Linked DNA regions of Homo sapiens: region 2 is linked to region 1. The links are contacts of gene promoters, found by promoter capture Hi-C in blood cells and fetal thymus (Javierre and others, 2016). All regions are on one chromosome and are shown on one strand. The core of a region is centred on a gene start or on the middle of the fragment in contact, and the rest is flanking DNA. Distances in the headings are between cores, read along the strand shown. Region 1 holds the start of SIGLEC12 (sialic acid binding Ig like lectin 12). Region 2 has its middle 14 kb from the start of MIR99B.

The links. The method cuts DNA at HindIII sites, captures the fragments that hold promoters and counts their contacts. A CHiCAGO score of 5 or more calls a contact.
Region 2: a contact is called between a fragment that was not itself captured here and the fragment with the promoter of SIGLEC12 in region 1, in 1 of 17 cell types (monocytes). The highest score is 7.4, in monocytes.

What each region holds. Positions count from the first base shown.
Region 1 is chr19:51,500,220-51,503,437 of GRCh38, forward strand. It overlaps SIGLEC12 (sialic acid binding Ig like lectin 12), which reads right to left and starts at 1,581. Exons shown (of 8, transcript NM_053003.4): 1 at 1,088-1,581; 2 at 1-81. The coding sequence starts at 1,514. The HindIII fragment of the contact is 28,149 bases long and covers 1-3,218 here.
Region 2 is chr19:51,676,786-51,680,003 of GRCh38, forward strand. No RefSeq gene overlaps it. Among named protein-coding and RNA genes, the nearest start is that of MIR99B, 14 kb to the right of the region's middle. The HindIII fragment of the contact is 6,463 bases long and covers 1-3,218 here.

The sequences.
Region 1 (3,218 bases), core at 331-2,830:
GCACAGAGACACACAGACCCTCCTGCACAGTCACCGACTCTGGCACCTCCAGCCTGTATCTTGACAGTAGGTCCTGGGACGCTGTGGAGAAACGAGGGTCAGCCCAGCCCCCACTGTCCCTCTCTTCATTTGCCCATAGCAGGGGCAGCAGCATCTCTGAGGCAGAGGCTTCCTGGGCTCCCTGTGTGAGCAGAGAAGGGGGAGGGAGAGGAGGGGCAGGGCTGTGGGACCCACAGGGGGCTGGAGAGGAGCTGGAGACCTCAGCCCTGCATGGAAGAGAAACTGCAAACCCACATGCTATAGGAACTCATTCCCTCTGCACAGAGTGAAGGAAACCCTAAAGCTCAGAGACCCTAGAGACCCACCCAGGGAGGAGAAGAGACCGTGTCCCGCCTCCTACCTCCGGGCTTCCCTGAAGCACCAGGGCCTGCACCAGACACGTAGGTCCTGCCCTCCCGGCCTCTGGACCATCGTGGAGGTCCCTCCTGTCTTTTGAGCATCTAAATGTGGATCTCCGAGGACCTCGGGGCATGAGAGATGGAGGGGCCGTGTGCTGAGTCTCCCTGTCCAGGCTCAGGTGCCTCTGCTGCCCTTGGTTTGCGCCAGGAAGTGCTTCCTCCCTGGCCTGGCCTGAGAGAGTCACGGGGTTGTGTAGACCTAAGGCTCTCAACTGGGGAGGACTTAACCCCCCAGGACGTTTGACAATGTGTGGAGATAATTGTCTCGCTGCATGGGTGGGGTGGGTGCTTCTGGCATCTGGTGGGGAGAGGCCTGGGATGGTGCTAAACCCCGGCCATGCCTAGGACAGGCCCCAAAACAAGGAGTCATAAGGCCCCACATGCCACAGTGCCAGCGTCAGAGGCAGGATGAGGATGTCAGGCCTGTGGGTCAGGGCTGGTGAGGGGAGGGGCTTGCAGGATCAGGAGGGGCATCCAAGGTGCGGTCCTGGGGAAGCTCAGGCTCTGGTCCAGCTCCTCCCCTGAGTCCATCACCCCCGGCCCCCTCCCAGGACATGTGTCCCGTCTCAGCCGTGCCCTAAAGCCCTCATCACATTTGCCTTTGGCCTCTCTTGGAGCCCGTGCCTTACCTGTCACATTCACAGAGAGCTGGTCATATTTATAATTCCATTTCATATTTCCTCTCTCTACACAAAAGACGTATGTCCCTGCATCACTCTCTCTGGTGTCTCTGATGCTCAGGGTACAATCCTTGTTCTGTGGGTCCCCAAGGAGGTGGAATCGGTCCCGAGTCTCCTCCTGCACTGCTCGAGCTGGGTTGTTTGTGGCCACTGGAATGTTCCGGCTTACATGGTCCCCTGCCCGGAACCAGTAGCCATGAACTGGATCGGAGGCAGTCCAGCCATTTTGGGGGTAGGAGAAGGAGCAAAGCACAGAGACACACAGGCCCTCCTGCACCGTCACGGACTTCTGCATTGTCAGCAGGTAATCCTTCTGTTCCTTAGCCCCCACTCTCCCACAGAGCAGGGGTGGCAGCAGTAGCAGCAGCAGTAGCATGTGTCGGGTTGGAGGTGCCAGGGTTGCTGAGGTAAGTCTGTTCCTCAGGGTTCTTCTCTCAGGAACTGAGAACTCAAGATTTCGAGGAAGCCGCACAGGAAGTTGGGGGTGGGTTCTGAACGGTGACCTCACAGGAGGAACTTCACACACAGACACTGTCAGGGCCGGGTCACCCCTGGAAGATCCACCGTCCACTACCCCGTCCACTCCTGGGGACCCTGAGGCCAGAGAGGATGAAAGACTCACCCAGATTCCAACCCCATGCAGGGCCCACCCCGCCCACTGCCTCCCTCTCAGTGCCCTTCCCCTTGGGTGATATTTTCCATAAGGTGAAAATGAGTCCCATGTGGCCAGACCTATGAAGTACAGGCTGTGGATGTCTCTCTGTAGGTCAGAGGTGACACTAGGATATAAGAGATGGGGGTGCAGGTGGGATGAGCAGGCAACCTCTCCTTCCTCCCTCAGCGGCCGTGAGGTGGAGTTCAACACAGCAGAGCTAGACACTGTCCCCAAAGAGTCACTGTGTAGTGGGGAGACACTGAGGCTCCTGATATCTGAGCTCTCCATGGCAGGAGCTTCAGTGGGGGTACCAGGCAGGGTGTGGTCGCTCTCTCCTATGTTGGGGAATCAGTCTCGGGAGGACTGAGCAGAGAGACACGGGGTCGTGGAGGTGAGGATTCCGTGTGTTGATACACACCAAAGACACAGAGAAGAGCCCAGTTCACAGGAGGCCTGAGAAGCTAAGGCTGTGACTGTTGTACAGTGAGGTCTGGAAGGGAGGAATGTTGGATGGGAAGGGACAGATTTCTAAAGGGGCAGGCGTTTCTCTCTCGGCCATGGCTCTCTGGGTTCAGGATGGGATCCTTCACCACTGCTCTCTCACAAGTCCTCCTTACTCCAGAGCATGAGGGGTCTGCTGGCCCTTTGTTCCTGCAGGCTCTGCTCCCAGGGTTTCAGGTGAACAGGAGACGTGGAGCGAGGACACCAGCCCTGGCGTGTCCACGCTCAATGATGGACAGGATTTCATGGGAGAAGAAATGCACCTGAATTCAGCAGAAGAGTTTTTGAAACTGTATGCTATGTACTGGGAGGAAGGTGGGGAAAATCCTGCAAGATTCGCCCTCCTTAGACCCATGTCAGCTTTTCTTGAAACAATGATTTTTGGGGAAATGTAATACAAGTAAATAAAAGTGCCACCTAAAAAAATGACTCAGTGATTTTCACCAAATTATCACTGTTCAAGAAATAGAACATCACAAGATAATTGCCAAATTTCTCCCATGAGATGAAGAAAGAAATTGCATTCATTTATTCAGCCCTGTGTTTCCCCTTCCTATAGGCCACATGCAGTTCCTCCTGAAGATGCCCCAGCCTCACTTTAATGATAATGGTCTCCTTGCTTTTCTATGTAGTTTTATCATCTGAGTGCACTGCCTTCAATACTATGGCTTTGCATAGGTTTTTCTAAAGACTATTTTTACATAAAAACCACAATCTGTTTTATTTTACTCAGCTCCATGGATCTTCCCATCCCCATGTTGTCCCCAATTGCCCATAACCTGGAGTAGAGTCAGTTGGCTGTGATAATTGAAAAGGAAATGTGCAGGATTGGGGCATGCATAGCTGCTCCTCTCCCTGACACCACTAATTCCTGCATTTGCAGCTTGTATCTCATCCTGCAGACCAATCTGCTCCTGGGCCCCC
Region 2 (3,218 bases), core at 451-2,950, 180 kb after region 1:
TCATTCCTTAAGTCGGTGAGACCACGAACCCACCGGGAGGAACAAAACAACTCCAGACTTGCCACTTTTAAGAGTTGTAACACTCACTGCGAAGGTCTGTGGCTTCACTCCTGAAGTCAAGTGAGACCACAAACCCACCGGAAGCGAGAAACTCTGGACACATCTGAACATCTGAAGGAAGAAACTCTAGACACGCCATTTTTAAGAACTGTAACACTCACTGCAAGAGTTTGCGGCTTCATTCTTGAAGTCAGCAAGCCCAAGAACCCACCGGAAGGAACCAATTCTGGACACAGTAGAACTGGTTCCTCTTCCTTATTCCACCTAATCACACACCTATGCAATTTTTTGCTTCCTAAATTTGCAACTTTGGAGTGGGTGGCTTTGCGAGTCCTAGTGTTTCAAGGAGAAACACTTCCACTAAAGGACCCAGTTATGGTTTCAAGTGGAAGGAGAGGCTGCCTCTTGGCCATTTTGGGCAAGTCATGATGCTAAACCATCAGGCAGAGAAGGAGGTACCTTTACTAAGCTAGTAAAGGTACCAATTGATCCAATTATTAGGAGAAAAATATGTTGTTGCTATACAGTGCAATCAAGGAGAATTAGGAGTGGAACCGAGACTATTCCGTCGGGAGGCTTTTTATACTCTGTCCAGAATAATGGTCAATGGATAACTGCAGCAGTGCAATAAAGACGAAGCATTAATGACTTGGATCCTTTGGGTCACTCTACCAGATAAAAAATTCCAAGGAAACGAAGTGCTAGAGGAAGGTAAGAGAGACACAAAATGGTTATCAATTTAGGCTTTATGACCAGCTATAGAAGCAGGAACTGCAGCTATTATGTTTTATGGTAACTAATTGTTTCTTTCCCACTTCAATTTCACTCTGATATCTTACATGAAGAGCACTTTTCATGGCTGTTGTTACAATTTCAGTTTCAGAAGTATAGCAGGAATGACTTCCCTCTGCAGTAATAGTAGAACTAATACTGGGCATCTCTGTGTTAAGGATGTGAGCTTGTTCATCCAAACAAAAGAACGTAATGGGTGCTCAGTGACAACAGGGATGACCTGTGCCTCTTCAGATCCATCATTCACTTGTCTCTGCTCATTTCTGTGCACTGACAGGCTGACCTCTCAGGACCGCATCATCAGCTTCCCCTTGCCAGTGGGAGGCACTGTCCGGAGATTGAAGGGTGGGAGGAAAGAAGTCAGGGTTTTTATTCCTCCTGTTCTCTCCCTACAGTTCTGGCCGTGGCTGCATTCCTCTGTGCTACAAGTCCTATAAGGCAGCCCATCCTCCAAGGCTACTGCCCTTGCCCCATCAGGTCTAGGCTGGTACCCGTTTCCCACTGCTGCTTGTCCTTGGATGCTGCACCATCTCTTTTTGGACCTCTTAATCCTGCCTACATCTCTATTTAGTCCCTTCATTGGCCTATGTTTATTATTTATTTATTCATTTATTTATTTATTTTGAGACGGAGTCTTGCTCTGTCACCCAGGCTGGAGTGCAGTGACGCGATCTCGACTCACTGCAACCTCCATCTCCCGGGTTCAAGCAATTCTCCTGCCTCAGCCTCCTGAGTAGCTGGGACTACAGGCGTAAGCCACCGCTCCTGGCCACTTTTTGTATTTTTAGTAGAGACAGAGTTTCACCATGTTGGCCAGGCTGGTCTGGAACTCCTGATCTCAAGTGATCCGCCTGCCTTGGCCTCCCAAAGTGCTAGGATTACAGACGTGAGCCACCGTGTCCGGCCAAGTCTATGTTTAATTAAGCTCTTGAATGAGCCATCAGCTTCCTATTCGAATCCTGATGGATACATCCATATATTTACCACCTGTTTCCTCCTCGTACCTCAGACCTTCTACCTGGGATCATTTTCATTCTATGATCAAAGTACATCCATGAAGGAGGGTTTCAGTTTGCTTTTACCATATGCCATAGTACCAGTTTGGTGCCACTTTTACTTTTGTTCCTTTCCTCTCAGGAGACTGTTGAAAACTACAGCTCATTTTTATAATCAGAATAAGCCTATGCTCATCAGTCAAAAGCAGGTTTGAATGCTCTGCTTAGTTCTTGGAGTTCTCACTTTCTAAATTTTAGCTAGGAAATTCCTCACTAGATTGTCTTTCCATTATTTTATAAAGATTGTTTTGAGTATTTTATCCGCCACTTTTAATGACTTTCAGCAGAGGAGTTGATCCATATAGCCTGGACTGCCATTCTCAAAAATGAGAAAGTTCTCCCCTCTCTTAGGTTTTTTTGTTTTCCCATAAGATTTTTGCATTTGCTTGCTATTTCACGTAGGCTGTTGGGAAGAATGTCTCCTGAAATCTTGGATGAGAAATATGACAATAGAGAAAGACAATTCACTTTCAAGATATCAAAATACTATTCATATAACAGAAAAACAAAAAAGTATTAATATTAGCCATCTATTGTTACCTAGGGAATTATTCCAAAACTGAGCATCTTGATACACACTTATCTTACAGTTTCTGTGGTCAGGAATCTGAGCACAGCTTAGCTTGGTCCTTGGCTTACGGTTTCTCACTAGGTTGAAATCAAGATGTTGACTCAGGGTCTTCATCCTCATCTGAAGGCTCTACTGGGGAATGACCCACTTCCAAGTTTATTCATTGGCTTTTGGCAACATGCAGTTCCTCACAGGGTATTGGAATGAGAGCCTCAGTTCCTTTCTAGCTGTTGGCAGGGGCTTCCCTCAGTTCCTTACCTCATGAGTCTTTCAAAAATGGCAGCTCAGAATATAGCCACTTACTTGATTAATACATGAAAATCAGAAAGGCAGTAGAGTTTGCTAGCAAGACAGAAGTCACACAGTTTTTTGTAATCTAATATTGGAAATGACATTCCATCACTTTTGCCATATACCATTAGTTATAAGTAAGTCACTAAGTTCATCCTTTGGGGAGGAGGTTACACAAACACATGAATATCAGGAAGTGGAGATCATTGGGAGATATTTTAGAAGGCTGACAACCCCGCAAAAATAATTTCTGAATTTCCATCTGTATCTCAGCATTCAATAGCTATGCACCTGTTTCAGCACATTGGCAGGAGCAAAACAATAGCAAAGTGTTTACAGCATGTATCGTGTGAAATACATCCACTCTCAAAGCACCTTCGTTTGGCTATTTCTTCAGTAGGTTCATCAAATAAACCACTTTTTTTCAAGCAACTCTCAGTTATCAGTAC